5 separate regions of the Homo sapiens genome follow, and all the other regions are linked to region 1. The links are contacts of gene promoters, found by promoter capture Hi-C in blood cells and fetal thymus (Javierre and others, 2016). All regions are on one chromosome and are shown on one strand. Each heading gives the region's core, a stretch centred on a gene start or on the middle of the fragment in contact. The rest is flanking DNA. Distances are from core to core; before and after follow the strand shown.

Region 1 (3,791 bases), core at 661-3,160:
TCTAAAACTCATCTCCGGCCTCCTGTTTCCCAACCAAACACCGGTGTGTGTGCACAAGGGGTGCCTGACACAGTCCCGCCCCTCTGCAGCTGCTCCCCCCCACACACCTGGGCATCCTCAGGCAGAATCAGGGTCCTAGGACTGCCCATGCCTCCCCAATCTGCCCAAATGCCAGCACACGTGCAGAGTGTTGCTGGAGCAGCCCCGTGCCTCCTAAGACCAGATCCAAACTGGAGCCCCCAGGCCTCTATTCCACAGCCACTGCACACGGGCCACCCACCTAGACTCCCTCCTACTGATACAGCCACAGAGCAGGTTCGTGCTCACAATCTGCATCCAGGACCTGGCTCCTCTGCCCGTCTGGGGGCACACCATGCTCCTGAGTCAACAATCTACATCCCTCACCCTGTGTCTCAACCTGCCTGGGACATCTCAGGTACCCACAGCCTCTGTGTAGGTTCTGGGGTCAACTGCCCCACTATTTGCCCGCAGCCAGGACACTACAACAACTAAACAGTAGCTTGAGCATACAGCTCCATAATCAGCCCCAGGACTTGGGCACTCGCCAGCGTGGGGGTTCTCGAGCCTACGATACAGCAGCTCAATGGGAACTGGGCCCTTTGTCCTTCTCTTGCCCAATCATGACGGCCTGGGTGTTGTGCAGTCAGCTCTTCCCGGGACCAAATCTGCAGCACAGGCTCTGTCCCTCTACTAACCTGCACATTCTCACGCCTGCAAATAGCGTACCCAAGTAAAGGTCTCAGCAACACCTGCTTCATAACGATGCTGGCAACATACTGCTTCCTCCCCAGCTACCAATTTGATGGCAGCTGTTGCAGCTCTGTCCTTCCTGGACTTAAATTCTGTATCTCCAACCCGGAGTCTCTGCCCATCTTGAATGCTCTAGAGCTCTGCACTATCCTACATAGGTCCCTACTATCAGTTCAAGTTTCTGTTTTCCATTCAGACACCCCCAGGACGTGCAGGGGGCCCTCTGCCCAGAACCTGTTTCTAGGCCCTGATACCCTCCTTCAGCCTGGGAGTTTGCTGCCCATGGGTAATTCCCACCAAGGGTTCACTAGCAACACTGCCTCTTCTGGCACAAGAATCTGCAACTCCAATCTGGTCTCTCCACCAACCACAGCGCCCCCAGACCTTGGAGAAGCGCGTTGTCTGCTCTAGGGGCCCAGAGCCACCTGCTCGGAATCTTACCTACAACCTTTTGCTTCCTACCCAAATACCTGATCAAGAGTAAAGGGACAGTGGCACAGCCCCTCCTCTCCAGAAACCACAATCTGCAATGGAGCACTCCATCAACCCGGACATCCTCAGGCCTCCACTAAATAAGCCCGGCATTGGAGGAGGGGAGTTCTCAAGATGTCCCCTTACATCAATGCATGTGCCCTGTGTTCCAGCAACCTGGGCATCCTCAGGCCCCAGACAAGAGCACCACCTGACCAAGCACCCGCGCATGCACGCAGAGGACAGTCGCGGAATATACAGCTGTATCAGTAACTCCATCAACCCCGGTGACCCGAGGCTAAAGCGCCACCCGCACAGATACCAGGTCTCCCCGCTACACTCACCACCGCTTCCAGCTTCCCGCGTAGACCCTGCGCATGCGCGCATCGGACACCAAGCGCTGCCCCACGCCCCTACCAACCTGGGCGTCCGCTGGCCCGCAGCCCAGGCTGGGCCTGTCACCGCCTCAGTGCCTAGCACGGCTCTGCGGCAGGACGAACTCGGGTTAGGCAACCCCCTGCCCCGATTCTGCAACACGGCCGACTCGGGTTAAGCTAGTTCGGTCCCCTCTCCTAGTCAGCATCCGCAAGGCCGCTGGGGGTTAAGTCTGAAGGGCCGAGCTGCTCGGCGACAGCAAGCGTCCGCGCGCGGGACAATGGCTGCTCTTGTGGCCGAACCCGGAAGTGCACTTGGGCTCGGAGAGCCAGAACTACAATTCCCAGAAGCCTCCGCGGCGCGGACGGTCAGTAGGCGGGGTTCCGGCTTCTCCAAGGAAGTGGGGCGGGGGACCGGGCCAGAAGCTAAGAGGGCGTCCTCGTCCGGGGCCCGGGGGGGCGCCACACCTGTGCATGTGCAGGTCTAGGGGGAGCACTAAGACCAGCCGCGGCGCCGGGAGGCCGAGGCCAGTGCAGCGACGCATGGGGAGTCGCTCTGGCGTGACGTCAGAATCCAATAGAAATGGCGGGGACCCTTTCTGGGTGCCCCCTGCCTGTCAGACGCTGCGCGCGACCCCTTGTCTCCTCTAGTCCTAGGGGAAACCTGTGAGACAGTTGCGACATCCCCATTTTACAGTGGAGGGAGCGTCTACCGAACCCTTCAGGAATCTATGTTTTTACATTTAATAATACTAAAATATAATCATTTTATTTTTAAATTTTGAGTTCTTTCTCTGCCTATAAGGCCTGAAGGATCTGTTCCCCCCACCTCTCCCCTTTTCTCTGTTTTTGTTTTGTTTTGTTTTGTTGTTTTGAGACGGAATTTCGCTCTTGTCGCCCAGGCTGGAGGGCAATAGCGCGATCTCGGCTCACTGCAACCTCCACCTCCCGGATTCAAGCGATTCTCCTGCCTCAGCCTCCTGAATAGCTGGGATTACAGGCGCCAGCCACCACGCCCGGCTAATTTTTGTATTTTTAGTAGAGACGGGGTTTCACCACGTTGGCCAGGTTAGTCTCCAACTCCTGACCTCAGGTGATCCGCCCTCGGCCTCCCAAAGTGCTGGGATTACAGGCGTAGTCCCCTTTTCTCTTTGCCCTCATTTCTTGCCCATTTGCTTGGCACATTTTCCCCATTCTCCAACAGATCCAGCAGACTCCAGCCCCTGGTCGTTTGCAGGTGCTCTTTGCACTCCCTAGCAGCCTCTCCTGAGGGATTCATTTGGCTCTCACCGTCTGGTAATTAGGGGAATATCATCTTCTCATGAGGCATTGCCCCACCACCCGTTGTGAACTTGCAAGCAAACGCTTCCCTCCCCACATGCTCTGTGCCTCCCCCTTCATCTTTTATTTTTTTCTCTAAAGAACTTTTCACTATCTAGCACACTATATATTTTAATTATTTATTTGGTCTACTGTCCGACCTACCACTACGATGTCAATTCCATAAGGAAAAGCATTTTATCGATGTTGATCACTGCTGCATCCCCAACACCTAAAAAAAAAAAAAAGAGAGAGACCTGGCACATAATAGATGCTCAATAAATATTCGTTGGCTAAATAAAGGTTCCTGTCTCTGTATTAAACACTTTAATATTTCATTACCAAGCCCAATCAGCCTATGAGGTAGTTGTGTTAATTTTCATCCTACCAGGGAGGTAGCTGAAAATTGGAGCCCTGCTGTATGAAAATACATAATTTTTTAGTTTTTAAAATGCTTGTCAAAGCACTCCTGTAGTTTTCTTCACGTAAATTCTGACCTTTAAAAACAATGAATTATTACTATTTGAAATGTAATCTCTATCCCCAAAGCTTCTTATTATTGGTTATTGTGGTTGATCTTTTAAAAAATACTTATTTTGTATCTGGTTAACCTACTGCAATGTTATTAATTCTTACAATACTCCAGTTGACTCTCTTGGCTTTTCTATTGAGACAGTTATCTACAATTTCATCTTTTCCTTACCAGTATTTTAAATTAGACATTCTCTTTCATGTTGGATTATATTGGCTACCATTTCCAAAAAAGTATTACTAAAAGAGGCATTCTTGTTTGTGTTCTTTTAATGGACATATCTCTGAAGTTTGAGGGTTAAATGTGACATCGGTTTCTACATT
Region 2 (3,791 bases), core at 622-3,121, 650 kb before region 1:
TTATCTTGCTATCCAGCAATTCATACTAGTGAGAAATATTTTGAATATAATTAATATGAAAAGGCCTTTAGACTTCTGTACAGTCTTATTGGATATCAATTTATACTGATGTAAAATCATTTAAATGTAAGGAATGTGTGAAGATCTTCATTCATGACATAAGGTCTGATTAACATCAAATAATTGGTATTTGTTAAAAAGAGTTTAAATAGGAGGAATGTGGGAAGGACCTAAACTTAATTCAGTTCTTGCTGCACATCAGAGAATTCATACTGCTGTGTAATCCTATGCACATAAGGAATTTGGGAAGGCTTATAGACACAGTAAATATCTTAGAGTACATCAGAGAATTCATCCAAATGAGAAATCATTTGAATTAGAATTATAGGAAGGCCTTTAGACAAATGCTACCCAAATTATTATCCAGAGACTGGTGCAGTCATAAAATTGTCATCTGTCAATTGTGAGATAAACGTGGAAAGTGAGTAAATATTTGGAACTTTTATAGCAATTTGACATTTCCATAACATTCTGTTTTACAAAATTATCAGTCCATAAATGATTGAGAATTGAAAACAAAGTTTGTTCTTTCCCAGAAATAATTTGAGACAAGACTCACACTTTTCAAGACATGAGACAAGTGACAATTTAAATAAGAAATTCTTCACTTGCACCTCTCTGATTAGAATAGCAGAATATTCATACTATAGCAAGATTTGGCAAATGAGGGAATCAAAATTTTCTAATGCCTGTAACAGCATAAGATAATTTATACCAGATATGTTAAATGTGCAGAAGCCTTCCAACACTATTCAGTCTTTGTTAAACTTCAGTAAGTTCATCCTAGAGAGTAACTCTGTTAATGTAACAAATGTAGGAAAACCCTTATCCATGGCAAATACCATACTGTCATCACCATTTCACCTCCATACTACCTGTAGGATGGTGAGCAAAATGCTTATCTCTTCTGGACATGATGTTTCAAATGCTGATGGTAACTAATAATGCTGTTACAGAGATTAGATGGATTTAGTATGCATCATATCCTTGGAAGAGTATCTGGTATGTAGCCTATGCTTAATACATATTAGCTATTGTTCATATTGTCTTTATTATTAGTATTACTACTGGTGAATTCTTAGGAGAGGCACAACCGTTTTGAGGAATGAATTCAGAAAAGCTTCCCATAACCACTCATCCATTTGAATTTCAGATAGTTCATTCTGGATAAGATCTAGTACAGTATAAAGAATTTGAGGGGATTTTAATTCAGAGTTTATCCCTTAAGCTGAGCTAAAAAAATGAGACTTGAAAAAATCCAGACTTTTGAAGAGTTTAGGAAAGCTGTTTTATAGAATGTCACACATTAGTTTCATTCCTCATGGTGAAATTTGATATGGGCCTCTCCTTCACATTTCTCGTAACATGAAGTTGGAAATAGAGGCTTAAACATTTTTTACCAGAACACTTCATAGATGGTGATGTGTACTTCATCTTGCAATACCTCAGAAGCAGATAGTATCCATTTCCCCCAGTATCACCAGTGCCAAGTTTGATCACTTATGGTAACTACTGGAGTTGTCTGTTATAAAGATCCATTATATACCTAATAGGATTGGTCAGCCTTGATCAATGATCTTTGGAAATGTGTGATCATATGGTATGTATTTTACTTTTTTTTTTTTTTGGGACAGGATCTCTCTTTCTGTCACCAAGGCTGGAGTGCAGTGGTGTGATTTCGGCTCACTGCAACCTGCACCTCTCGGGTTCAAGTGATTCTCGTGCCTCAGCCTCCCAAGTAGCTGGATACACAGGTGTGCACCACCATACTGGCTAATTCTTGTATTTTTAGTAGAGATGGGGTTTTGCCATGTTGGTCCAGGCTGATCTTGAACTCCTGCACCTGCCTCAGCCTCCCAAAGTGTTGGGATTACAGGTGTGAGACACTGCGCCTGGCTATATTTTACTATTTGGAAATCACAATGCATCTTAAAATTGATGGCTTCTTGCAACCACTTTCAACCAGGTGCCTGTCATGATTTAGTGCTAGCATCAAGGCAGGTTAGTTATGAAGAAATAGAGTGTGTGTTTATATACTCACACAGTTAGAAATCGACCCTTTTAAAAATTATTTCTTTTTGAAAATAATGTCAGTTCCATCAGAACTAATGCATTGATAACTAAATGTCTGTGGTTCCTTGTCATAGGTCTACACCTGACCTCTCTATTTTGTGCACATAGGGGATTCGTAATATCACTGTTCAGTCAGTCATTCACCATCTAGTGATCATCATTCTACATGATTGCACTTTTTCAAAGGCATAAAAAGCCAACAGTTGCACTCTTAATAATCAACTGTAACACAAAGCAGAGTACTTTGGGAGTTTTAACAGGATATATTATTGGTAACTGGCTATTATGCCACTCCCTCTGGGTGCCACATTTGCCTGTTAACCAAGAAATGTAGACATGGTGCCTTATCCCAACATTTCTGAAATTATATCTCAAGGAATCACCAGTGCTTACTAGTACTTGACAATGAAGGAGGATTTTACAGTTAAAGAAGCTTATAAAGTAGCATCTACTAAATCCCCTCCTAAGGAACAAGCAAAAGCACCTCACCAGCTTATCAAAAGACTAAAGAGAAGTGAAAAAAAAAAAAAGACGGCCGGGCGCGGTGGCTCATGCCTGTAATCCCAGAACTTTGGGAAGCCGAGGCGGGCGGATCACGAGGTCAGGAGATCAAGACCATCCTGGCTAACACGGTGAAACCCCGTCTCTACTAAAAATAGAAAAAATTAGCCGGGCGTGGTGGCGGGCGCCTGTGGTCCCAGCTACTCGGGGAGGCTGAGGCAGGAGAATGGCGTGAACCCGGGAGGCAGAGCTTGCAGTGAGCCGAGATTGCGCCACTGCACTCCAGCCTGGGCGACAGAGCGAGACTCCGTCTCAAAAAAATAAAAATAAAAAAAGACTAAGGAGTATTCTAGTGAAGAAAATGGTTGAACTTTGTTTAAACTGGTGTATGGCAAACTTCACTGTTGAAATACTTATTCCCATGACCTATTATCTTTGTAGGTGGGTGAAATTGCATTGGGAACTGCTGCTATAACCAAAAGAGAATTTCAGTCACCATGTCTGGTTGTTAGCTATGATGGAATGGCAGCATCATGGTCTCAGTTATGAGTGAAAATCTTTGTTGTAGCTAAGTAGTGGTGCCTCCTGAGTTTTATTAAATGCCGTTTCACTATCTTTTTCTGCACTTCTATAGTATTTAATTTGTTCATGTGATAATTTATTCTGATAGATTCACTGACTTTTTCCCATTCCTGGATATTCCAGGTTAGTCATAGTATCCTTCTGATGCATTGCTTGATTTCATTTTGCCATTTTATTTAGTATTTTTGCATCTCATGAGTGAGATTATATAATAGTTTTCTTTTTTATTGTATTTTTGTTTGTTTTGGTATTGCAATAGCCTGTTTTTTAATATTGTATGATCCTATTAGGTTATTTTGTTTGATCCTTGACCACTTTTCTAGTTCCATCTGTTGCATTTTTTTTTGTCTTTTAATTCCTACTTCAGACATAACAGATTTATTGAGTGTTAGCACAGTTCCTTTAAGGAGCCTTCATAGCCATGTAGTACTAGCCAAGATCCGCATAAAAGACGCATCCCAGCATGGCCCCTAAAATCCTTCATTATGTGCTCTTAAGAATAATGTGTTGGGAAGTCAGAACTTCCTTATAGGGCTGTTATGATCATACTTGTACATGTCTTTTGGAGCACACGT
Region 3 (3,791 bases), core at 677-3,176, 610 kb before region 1:
AGGCAGAAGAAGCGCTTGAACCCAGGAGGCAGAGGTTGCAGTGAGCCGAGATCGCTCCACTGCACTCCAGCCTGGGTGACAGAGCGAGACTCTGTCTCAAAAAAAAAAAGGCAATAATGAAGTTTGCCACATCAATTGACTCTTCCTTTCACAAGAGATTTCTCTGTAGCATGTGATGCTGTTTGATAGCATTTTACCCACAGGGGATCTTTTTTCAAAATTGGGGTCAATCTTTTCCAACCCTGGTGCTGCTTTATCAACTAAGCTTGTGTACTATTCAAAATTGTTTGTTTTTATTTCAACAACATTCACAGCATTTTCACCAGGAGTAGATTCCATCTCAAGAAACCACTTTAATTGCTCATCTGTAAGAAGCAGCTCCTCATCCATTAAAGTTTTATCATGAGATTGCAGAAATTCAGCCACATCTTCAGGCTCCATGTCTAATTCTAGTTCTCTTGCTATTTTTGCCACATCTGCAGTTACTTCCTCTACTCAAGTCTTGAACCCCTCAAAGTTATCTGTGAGGGTTGGAATCAACTTCTTCCAAACTCCTGTTAAACATTTTGACCTCCTTCTATGAATCAGGAGTGTTCTTAATGGCATCTAGAATGTTAAATCCATTCCAGAAGCTTTTCAATTCACTTTGCCTAGATCCATTAGAGAAATCACAATCTATGGCAGCTAGAGTTTTATGAAATGTATTTCTTAAAAAATGAAACTTGAAAGTTGAAATTATTCCTTGATCCATGGGCTGCAGGGTGGATGTTGTGTTAGTAGGCATGAAAGCAAAATTAATCTTTTCCATACATCCCCAACAGAGCTCCTGGATGACCAGGTGGAACGTCAATCGGCAGTAATATTTTGAAAGGAGTCTTTTTTTTCCTTTCTGAGCATTGGGTCTCAACAGTGGGTTTAAAATATTGAGTAAGCCATGCCATAAACAGATGTGCTGTCATTCAGGCTTTGTTGTCCCATTTCTAGAGCACAGGCAGAGTAGATTTAGCACAATTCTTAAGGGCGCTAGAATTTTCAGAATAGTGAATGAGTATCACCTTCAACTTATAGTCACCAGCTGCATTAGCCTCTAATAAGAGAGTCAGCCTGTCCTTTGAAGCCAGGCATTGACTTCTCTCTAGCTATGAAAGTCCTAGATGGTATCTTCTTCCAACAGAAGACTGTTTTGTCTACATGGAAAATCTTTTGTTTAATGTAGCCACCTTCATCAATAATCTTAGCTAGATCTTCTGGACAACTGGCTGCAGCGTATATATCAGCATTTGCTGCTTCACCTTGCACTGTTATGTTATGGAGATGACTTTTTTCCTTAAACCTCATGAACCAACCTCTGCTAGCATCCAACCTTTCTTCTGTAGCTTCCTCATGTCTCTCAGACTTCACAAAATTGAAGACAGTTAGGTCTTTGCTCTGGCTTTGGCTTAAGGGAATTTTGTGGCTGGCTTGATCTTCTATGTGGACCACTAATCTTTCTCTGTATTGCAGTATCTCCATATGACTCGAGAAGCACTTTTCATTTCCTTCAAGAACTTTTCCTTTGCATTCACAACTAGGCTAACTGTTTGGCACAAGAGGTCAAGCTTTTGGCCCGTCTTGGCTTTTGACATGCCTTCCTCACTAAGCTTAATCACTTCTAGCTTTTGATTAAAAGTGAGAAACAGAGGACTCTTCCTTTCATTTGAACACTTAGAGGCTATTGTAGGGCTACTAACTGGCCTGATTTCAATATTGTTGTGTTTCAGGAAAACAAAGAGAGGAAGAGAGACAGGAATAGCTGGTCGGTGGAGCAGTCAGAAGACACATAACATATATTCATTCAGTTCACCGTCTTATATGGGTGTGGCTCACGGTGTCCCAAAGCAATTACAACAGTAACACCAAGGACCCTGATCACAGATCACCATAAAAATAATGGAAAAGTTTTAAATATTGCTAGAATTACAAAATGTGACAAAGAGACACAGAATGAGCACATGCTGTTGAAAAACAGAGACAATATACTTGCTGAATGCAGGGTTACCACAAATCTCAATTTGTAAAAATTGCAATATTTGCAAAGTGCAATAAAGCAACATGCAATAAAATGAGATGTGCCTGTGTAAAAGGCATACTTCTAAATAGTTACTGGTCAAATAATAAATCAATGGAAGCTAGAAAATATTTTGAGTTAAATGATAGTGAAAGTAAGATATATCAAAGCTTGTGAGACGCAGGTAAACCAATGCTTATGAAGATATAAGCTTTAAATATATGTTTTGTCAAAACAGAAAGGTTGAAAATCAGTGATATACATCAAGAAGCTTGAAAAGGAAAAGCAAATTAAACCTATAGAAAGTATAACATACCAAAAGTAACCAATAACACAAAAAACCCCAGATATACAATAAAGAAAAATCAATAAAGCCAAAGCTATTTCATTGAAGAGATTAATAAGAATAATAAACTTCTAGTTACACTGATCAAGAAAAAATTGCCAATATCAGGAATATAAAAGAAGATAACACTACCTATTTTACTACATACATTAAAATCAGAATTGTATGAACAACTTTATAACTTTCTAATAAACTTGAAAATGTAGATGAAATTTTAAAATTCCTTGAAAACACAATTTGAACTGATATAAGAAATTGAAAATCTAAATATTGTTTTATTTATTAAAGAAATTAAATCTGTATTAAGGATCTTCTCACAAAAATAATGTCAGGCCAAGAGGATTCAGTAGCAAATTCTCCCAAACATTTAAGAAATTAAAAATGCCAATCAAACTCAACTTGTTCTAGAAAATAGAAAAAAACAAACTATGTCATAAGGCCAGAATAACTGTGATATCAAAACCAGATGAGGATATTACATAAAAGGAAAATTACAATATATCTGTTTCATGAACACAGACGCAAGCATATTAAACCAAATATTAGCAAAGAGAAACCAGTAACATATTGACCAAGAGAGCTTTATTTTAGAAATTCAAAGGCCATTTAATTTAATTTTTTACCATAACCTCAAACAAGTATAAGTTTAATTTTTAAAAAATCAATGTAATCTTTCAATGTTAACTAATAAAGGAGAAAACCATTCAATTATTTCATTAGAAATAATCCATTTAACAATATACAACATTAATCATGATAAAAATTCTCAGCAAACCAGGACTAGAGGGGAACTTCTTTCATCTGATAAAGGGGACCTAAAGAATAAAAACTACAACTACCATTGTACATAAAGGGATCATTATACATAATATGGACCACTGTCTTTCTGATTTCAGGAACAAGGTAAGGTTGTCTACTCTTACATGTCTTTTCAATTTTGTAGTAGAAGACCTATCCAATATTATAAGGAAAAAATAAAAGGTGTAAATGGAAGGAAGTAAAATGATCTTTATTTGCAGATAGTGTAGATTACATGATTATGTACATAAAAATATTTTTTAATTCCACAAGCTTTAAATTAAATAATTTATTGCTGAATAAAGGGTAAAAGTATAAAACAATTATATTAAAGCAAAGCTACTGAAAAATAAAATTTTTAAAACCTTAACAGTTTGTAAAAACATAAAAAATGTAAAACAGGAATAAATTTAACAGATGTGCAAGACCTTTAGACAGGAAACAACAAAACCTTAAGGAAAGAAATTAAAGATGAATTCAATAAATGGAAATGTATTCCATGTTCATGAACTGTAAGACTCAATTTTGAGATAATTCTCTCTAAATTTATCTACTGATTCAATGTACTGCCAACAAAATGTCAGCAGGGCGTTTTGTTTG
Region 4 (3,791 bases), core at 578-3,077, 580 kb before region 1:
ATGAAGAGATTAACAATGAGAGAATTAACAATCTCATAGGATTGTTTACAAATTAAATGAGGGAAAAAGCTCAAAGAATATTTTCAGAGTACCTTATTTCTTAGCTGCAGAAAAGCACATAACATAAAACCTGTGCTCATTAATGGTTTCTACCAATAAATTCTTTGTTTTTTTTTTTTTTTTTTTTTTTGAGAGAGGGTCTTGCTCTGCTGCCCAGGCTGGAGTGCAGTGGCACAATCATGACTCACTAAAGCCTTGACCTCCTGGGCTCAAGCGATCCTCCCACCTCAGCCTCCCAAGTAGCTGGGACCACAGGTGTGCACCACAATGTCCAGCTAATTTTTTTACTTTTTGTAGAGACGAGGTCATGCTATGTTGCCCGAGCCAGTCTCAAACTCCTGAGCTCAAGTGATCCTCCTGCCTCAGCCTCCCAAAGTGCTGGGATTACAGGTGTGAGCCACCACACTCAGCTGATGAATTCTTTAGTAGAGGTTTTTTAACCTCTACTTTAACCTCGCCTTTAACCTCTGAAATACCTGTTATTCTCTCTTGGTTTCCCATACTTAATTTGAGGCTTTTGCAATAGTATTTAAGATTACAGTGGTCCTTCCTATCCATAGTTTTGCTTTCTGTGGTTTCAGTTACCTGAAGTCAACTATGGCCCAAAAATAGGTGAGTACAGTGCAGTAAGATATTCTGAGAGAGAGAGAGAGACCATGTTTATAGAACTTTTGTTACAGTATTTTATCATTATTCTATTTTATTATAAGTTATTGTTGTTAGTCTCTTACTGTGCCTAATTTATAAATTAAGCTTTATCATAAGTATGTAGGTAAAGGAAAAACATAGTATATTTAGGGTTCAGTAATATCTGAGGTTTAAGTCATTCACTGGGGGACTTGGAAGGTATCTGCTGTGGATAAGGGGGGACTACTGTACATAGATGACTGCTTTTTTTGATAGTAAAATATGTAACATAAAATTTACCATTTTAACCATTTTTTAAGTGGTTACATTCAGTAAGTACATTTACATTGTTGTGCAGCCATCACCACTATCCATCATCAGAATTTTTTATGTACCCATTAAGTAATAATTCCCCATTCCCCCTCCCAGCCCCTGATAACCACGTTATCTCTATGAATTTGACTATATGGACTGGTTTCTAAAAGGTATAAGACCTTGCAAAATTTGGCTGTGTAGAGTGGCTCATGCCTGTAATCCTAGCACTCTGGGAGGCCAAAGTGGGAGGACTGCTTGAGGCCAAGAGTTCAAGACCAACCTGGCCAACAGAGTGATCTCTAAAGAGAAAAAAAAAAAATCTAAAAAAAAAAAAAAAGACCTTGCAAAATTTACTTTAACAGTAGGGCCTTAAAAAGACTATCATAGAGACAGAGAAAATTTAATAAAAAATCATGACTCTGCAAGATTTATGCAACTATAAATTAGATAATGTCACTGAAATTAACAAGCTATAGGAAGCACAATAATAACAACAAAAATGGTGATATTTAACTAAATACATATTAGGGACCTTATGAAGAACTTGGCACATGATGTTTCATTAAGGTACTTCACACATACCTGTGAAGAAGCTACTGTTGTATCAGTTGTGTGACCTTGGTCCAAACACCTAAACTTCTGTGCCTATGCTCAGCTATAAGAAGGGAAATGAAAACAGGATGTTAATCATAGGATTACTGTGAGGAATCAATGAGTGAATTTATGCAATGCCCTTGGCATAGTACCTGGCATTTTAGGGAGTTCTCAACAGATGATAATGACGACAATTGTATCCATTTAACAGGCGAGGAAGCTGAGGCTTGGTGAGGTCAAGAGGCAGGAACAGTACCTGAATCCAGCTTTCATACCAGAGCCAGTATTCTAAATCTTGTCTCTCTGTTGCTTCTAAAGACAAAAATAAGCAGATGGGAGTCTAAGATCTCATGGAAGGAGAAATGAGGGCTCCAGAGTTAGGGGTAAAAGACAGACACAGAAATGGAGATTGGACTCTGAAGCCAAGGGAGCTGCTTGAGGGAGTAGAGAACAGAGTTGTGAACAGTCTAGACTCCAGAACCAGCCCACCAGTACTGGAATACAGGCATGTCCAACTTGCTAGTACTTTGTGCTCTAATGTCTAATCTATAAACTGGATGTAATAATAATACCTACTTCATAGGAAGGTCAGTGAAAGTGACTAAGTATACACAAAACATGTGGAACAGTTTCTGGCAGCTTAAACAATCAATAGAAGTTACACATAAACCCATGCAGATGCTTTACATGAAACAGTCAGGGAGCCCCTCCCTTGCTGCTGTGGACCAATGTCTGTGTCCCCTCAAAATTCTTATGTTGAAGCCCTAATGTGATGTTATTGGGAGGTGGGGCCTTTAGGAGGTAATTAGGTCATGAGGGTGAAGCCTCCATAATGGGATTGCTTTCCTTGTAAGAAAAGCAAGTAACCTAGCTCTTTCTCTCTTCCTCCCAGGAAGATACAAGACAACAGCTTCTGCGAACCAGTAAGAGTGGCCTCATTAGACATTGGATTTGCCAGTGACTTGATCATGGACTTCCCAGTCTCCAGGACTGTGAGTTATAAAGGTTTGTTGTTTAAGCCACCCAGCCTATGGTATTGTTTGTTATAGCAGCACAAATGGACTAAGGCACTCACGGAGTCTGCAGCTTCACATGGCTTGATGATGGGGAAACATGGGCTGGATTCCAGATTCCACTTGACCCTTCAGCAGAGAGCCTCTGCACAGTGAAAAATGGAGTTCTTGTAGCTCTCAGGGTATGATTCTGATTCTATGGAGGGTGGAAACGAGTAAAATACCCAGATTAAAAGCTTAGTATTAGTTAATTACTGCTTGATTTATTAGTAAATTATTCTTAGTTCTCTTACTTCAGATAGAAGAACCCTTACTATTGAAAAGGGAAACATAAAACCTTCCAATCTTAGAAGAAATACTTATTTATTTATTTTTCTGAAATGGAGTCTTGCGCTGTGGCCCAGGCTGGAGTGCAGTGGAATGATCTCAGCTTACTGCAACCTCAGCCTTCCGGGTTCAAAAGATTATCCTGCCTCAGCCTCCCCAGTAGCTGGATTATGGGCACCCGCCACCATTCCTGGCTAATTTTTTTTGTTTCTTTTGTTTTTTTAGTACAGATGAGGTTTCACTATTTTGGCCAGGCTGGTCTCGACCTCCTGACCTCAAGTGATCCACCCGCCTTGGCCTCCCAAAGTGCTGGGATTATAGGCGTAAGCCACCACACCCAGCCTGAAATACTCTTTTAGAATTTGTAATTCACTTTGTTCTAACTCTATATTTGCCCAGCAACCTCTGCTCAGTAAGAATGTTTTGCAGGGGATATATTTCCATCGCCTCGGGAAAAAAAAGAGATAATAGCAAATCAACCATCTGTCTTGTGATGAATGTTTATTCAGCTTTATATCCCAAGTACCTAAAACAGTTCCTGTACAAAGTAATTGCCCAGCAGAAATGACTGAACCCACCATCAGACATGGAGAGGCATATAGGAAGACTAGACTAGTTGGTCTAAGTCTCCCTGAGACTGACTCCAGTTGGGAAGATTTGGAGAGCAAGGGTTTTATTTCCAAATTTTTCCTCTAGGTCTTTCACCATATTTGCTGTCCTTGGGCAAGATCAGAGTCATCTTTGGAAGGAAAAGCATCTCTGGATTTTGTTAAATACCATCTTAGGAAAGTACTCTCTGCTCTTCAAAGTCAGCGACGACATGAGTCACTGTTACAGAACCCACAGAATGTGTCC
Region 5 (3,791 bases), core at 739-3,238, 530 kb before region 1:
GCATCAGATGGTCCACACAGGAGAGAAACCATATAATTGTAAAGAATGTGGGAAGACCTTCAGATGGTCCTCATGTCTTTTGAACCATCAGCAAGTCCACAGTGGACAAAAATCCTTCAAATGTGAAGAATGTGGGAAGGGATTTTATACAAATTCACGACGATCTTCCCATCAGAGATCCCACAATGGAGAAAAGCCATATAACTGTGAGGAGTGTGGTAAGGACTATAAAAGGAGGTTGGATCTTGAGTTTCACCAGAGGGTCCACACGGGTGAGAGACCCTATAATTGTAAGGAATGTGGCAAGAGCTTTGGCTGGGCCTCCTGTCTTTTGAAACATCAGAGACTCCACAGTGGGGAAAAACCTTTCAAATGTGAAGAGTGTGGAAAGAGATTTACTCAGAGTTCACAACTTCATTCCCATCAGACATGCCATACTGGAGAAAAGCTATACAAATGTGAGCAGTGTGAGAAGGGGTACAACAGTAAATTTAATCTTGACATGCACCAGAGGGTCCACGGGGGAGAGCGACCCTATAATTGTAAGGAATGTGGAAAGAGCTTTGGCTGGGCTTCATGTCTTTTGAAACATCAGAGACTCCACAGTGGAGAAAAGCCATTGAAATCTGGAGTGTGGGAAGAGATCTACTCAGAATTCACAGCTTCATTTACATCAGTAAGTCTATGTGGGAGAAAAGCCATATAAATGTGAGAAGTGTGGGAAGGGCTTTGGCTGGGCCTCAACTCATCTGACCCATCAATTCTCCACAGCAGAGAAAAACCATTCAAATATGAGAACTGTGGGAAGAGCTTTGTACATAGATCATATCTTTTTTTTTTTTTTTTGAGACAGAGTCTCACTCTTTCACCCAGGCCTGACTGCAGTGGCGCTATCTCAGCTCACTGCAAGCTCCGCCTCCCAGGTTCACGCCATTCTCCTGCCTCAGCCTCCCGAGTAGCTGGGACTACAGGTGCCCGCCACCACACCCAGCTAATTTTTTGTATTTTTAGTAGAGACGGGGTTTCACCGTGTTAGCCAGGATGGTCTCGATCTCCTGACCTCGTGATCCGCCCGCCTTGGCCTCCCAAAGTGCTGGGATTACAGGCGTGAGCCACTGCGCCCGGCCATAGATCACATCTTAAAGACCAAGAAAAGAGTCCACAGTGGAGATAATCCATACAAATGTGAGGAGCATGGGATGTACTACAACAGGCACTTGACTTGATATGCATCAGAGGGTCCATATGGCAGAGAAACCGTGGAAGTTTGGGGAGATTGCCATGTGCTTCAGTTATGCCTCAAAGTCTTCAACTTCATTGGACTGTTCACTTTCAAGGGAAACCTTAGTAAGGTGATATCTGTGATAGTCTTCTCAACTACAAGCTCATCTGAGAGTTCACAATGGGAGAAGCATTAAAAATTTGATACATGTGGTAAGCACTTCAGTTTGAGTTCATATCTCATAGCTTATTACAGAATCCATGCTGATGATACATTTCATACAGTCTCAGGAGGGAAAATATTTAAGTTAAAGTCAGAGTTTCAGCCATAGTTCAGCATACCCACGTGGTTTTAGAACCACTGTAGCACAGAACCTTTGTAATTTGGGGCTTCATTCAGAAGTTTGGCAATTATAGTTATTCAAGAGACAGGCCTTAGAAAGAATAGGAGTTTGTTCAGGCATTTACAAATCTCTAATGATGGACATGTCAAAATTGATGTCGGCTAGAATATAAGCTGCATTTACCTTTGCTGCAGAATCTTCACAACCTTAACACTGATTGGCACTTTGTATGTGTGTTTGGTACATGTAAGAGATGTAGAAAGAGCTTTGGCTGGGCTTCATATCTTTTGAAATATCAGAGATGTGATATTAAAGGATCAAAAGGAGAAAACATATTTCAAAATTGTATCTAAAAGAGGAAACCTGGGATAGACCAAGATGGCCAATTAGAAGCAGCTATGGTTCATGGTACTCATACAGAGGAATGAAAATGACAGATAAATTCAGCACCTTCAATTGAAATATCTAGGTTCTCTCATTGGGACTGACTAGGCAATCAATTCAACCCACAGAAAATGAAGAAAAGTAGGGTGGAGTTATGGCCCACTTGGTGTGGCATGGAGCCAAAGGAAACCTCACCCCCACCCAAGGGAAGCAGTGAGTGATTGTGCGACCCTGCGCAGGAAACCATGCTACTCAAGGATCTTTGCAACCCACGGGTCAGGAGATCTCCTTGTGAGCCCATGCCACCAGGGCCTTGGGTTTGATACACAGAGCTGTGTGGAGTTTTGGCAGAGCGGCCTCTCAGGCACACACAGAGACCCAGGAGGTTTACATGCTCTAGCCCCAGAATTCCTGGCAAGGTGGCAGATTCATCCTTATATTCCCCTAGGAAGGGGGCTGAATCCAGGGAGCCAGGCAGCAACATTCTGTGGGCCCCACTTCCATGGCACCTTACAAAACCCACTGGCTTGGAATTTCAACCAACCAACAGCAACAGGCTTCAGCCTGAAATAGGAGGGAGCTCCTGTGGGGGAAGGCTGGCCACCATTTCTGTGGTTCAGTCTACTCAGCATTCCAGCCTGCCAGCTCTGGAGAGACCAGGTTGTCTGGACAAGGAGAGGATCCCCCTGCCCAACACAGAACACCTGCTTTGCCAGATCATGCCCAGACTGCTGCTTTTTTTTTTTTTTTTTTTTTTTTTTTTTTTTGAGATGGAGTCTCACTCTGTTGCTCAGACTGGAGTGCAGTGGCATGCTCTTGGTTCATGGCAACCTCCACCTCTTGGGTTCAAGCAATTCTCCTGCCTCAGCCTCCCAAGTAGCTGGGATTACAGGCAGGTACCACCACACCTGGCTAATTTTTGTATTTTTCATAGAGACAGGGTTTCACCGTGTTGGCCAGGCTGGTCTTGAACTCCTGACCGCAGGTGATCCGCCTGCCTCAGCCTTCCAAAGTGCTGGGATTACAGGCATGAGCCACTGCACCTGGCCCAGACTGCTTCTTTAAGCAGGACCCTGATCCATTCCTCCCCACTGTGTGGGGTCTCCCTGTGGGGGGTCTTCAGTCACTCCAGCCAGGCTTATACTGACAGAAATCTAATCTCTACCTCAGATGGAGCTCCCAGGGGAGTGGCGACCACTGTCTCTATGGTTCGGTTGACAAAGCTGTTCCAGCCTGCTGGCTTTGGAGAGTCTGGGCAATCTGGGTGAGGAAGGGTCCTCCCCCACCGCAGCACACCTGCTGTACCAAAAGCAGTTGGACTGCTTCTGTAAGTAGGTCCCTGATCCTGTTCCTCCTGACTCAGTGAGACCTCCCAACAGGAGTCTCTAGACACCTCCTACAGGAGTCTTCAGGCCAGAAACTGGTCAGTATCCCCCTGGGACAGAGTTTCCAAAAGAAGGAGAAGGCTGCCATCTTTGCTGTTTTGCAGCTTTCACTGGTGACACCTCCAGGTACGGGAAAAACGGAGGCAACTAGGGTCTCGAGCAGACCCCAGCAAACTGTGGCAGCCCTACAGTTGCTAACAGTCAGTGGCTTGACTGTTAAAAACAGGCAGAAAACAACAAGAACATCAACAAAAAGACCCCACAAAAACCCCATTCAAGGGTCAGCAACCTCAAGATTGAAGGTAGGTAAGCCCACAGATATGATAAAAAGTCAACACAAAAAAATGCTGAAAACTCAAAAAGCCAGAGCGCCTCTTCTCCAAATGACTACAGCACCTCTCTAGCAAGGGTACAGAACTGGGCTGAGGCTGAGATGGCTGAACTGACAGAAGTAGGC

The links. Contacts are between HindIII fragments. The CHiCAGO score rates a contact against its expected background, and 5 or more counts as called.
Region 2: a fragment that was not itself captured here is called in contact with the fragment with the promoter of ZNF180 in region 1 in 6 of 17 cell types (non-activated CD4 T cells, M1 macrophages, activated CD4 T cells and 3 more); the score reaches 7.7 in non-activated CD4 T cells.
Region 3: a fragment that was not itself captured here is called in contact with the fragment with the promoter of ZNF180 in region 1 in 1 of 17 cell types (activated CD4 T cells); the score reaches 6.0 in activated CD4 T cells.
Region 4: a contact is called between a fragment that was not itself captured here and the fragment with the promoter of ZNF180 in region 1, in 4 of 17 cell types (total CD8 T cells, M2 macrophages, naive CD4 T cells and 1 more). The highest score is 6.8, in total CD8 T cells.
Region 5: a contact is called between a fragment that was not itself captured here and the fragment with the promoter of ZNF180 in region 1, in 2 of 17 cell types (M1 macrophages and M2 macrophages). The highest score is 5.3, in M1 macrophages.

The regions. Positions count from the first base shown.
Region 1 is chr19:44,498,612-44,502,402 of GRCh38, forward strand. It overlaps ZNF180 (zinc finger protein 180), which reads right to left and starts at 1,911. Exons shown (of 5, transcript NM_001278509.3): 1 at 1,664-1,911. RefSeq lists enhancers at 1,181-1,679, 1,667-1,716, 1,680-2,180, 1,727-1,786, 1,797-2,006 and 2 more. The HindIII fragment of the contact is 10,008 bases long and covers 1-3,483 here.
Region 2 is chr19:43,848,769-43,852,559 of GRCh38, forward strand. It overlaps ZNF283 (zinc finger protein 283), which reads left to right. Exons shown (of 7, transcript NM_181845.2): 7 at 1-3,249. Among named protein-coding and RNA genes, the nearest start is that of ZNF283, 23 kb to the left of the region's middle. The HindIII fragment of the contact is 1,386 bases long and covers 1,179-2,564 here.
Region 3 is chr19:43,888,423-43,892,213 of GRCh38, forward strand. LOC100505715 (a long non-coding RNA gene) reads right to left here. Exons shown (of 3, transcript NR_038334.1): 3 at 3,382-3,791. Among named protein-coding and RNA genes, the nearest start is that of ZNF404, 6.4 kb to the left of the region's middle. The HindIII fragment of the contact is 577 bases long and covers 1,639-2,215 here.
Region 4 is chr19:43,922,654-43,926,444 of GRCh38, forward strand. ZNF45 (zinc finger protein 45) reads right to left here. Exons shown (of 10, transcript NM_003425.4): 4 at 2,672-2,805; 5 at 1,749-1,908; 6 at 1,585-1,657. ZNF45-AS1 (ZNF45 antisense RNA 1) reads left to right here. Exons shown (of 3, transcript NR_184050.1): 2 at 2,489-2,601; 3 at 3,633-3,791. Among named protein-coding and RNA genes, the nearest start is that of ZNF45, 11 kb to the right of the region's middle. The HindIII fragment of the contact is 2,032 bases long and covers 812-2,843 here.
Region 5 is chr19:43,966,651-43,970,441 of GRCh38, forward strand. It overlaps ZNF221 (zinc finger protein 221), which reads left to right. Exons shown (of 5, transcript NM_001297588.2): 5 at 1-1,059. The coding sequence ends at 706. Among named protein-coding and RNA genes, the nearest start is that of ZNF155, 16 kb to the right of the region's middle. The HindIII fragment of the contact is 5,043 bases long and covers 1-3,791 here.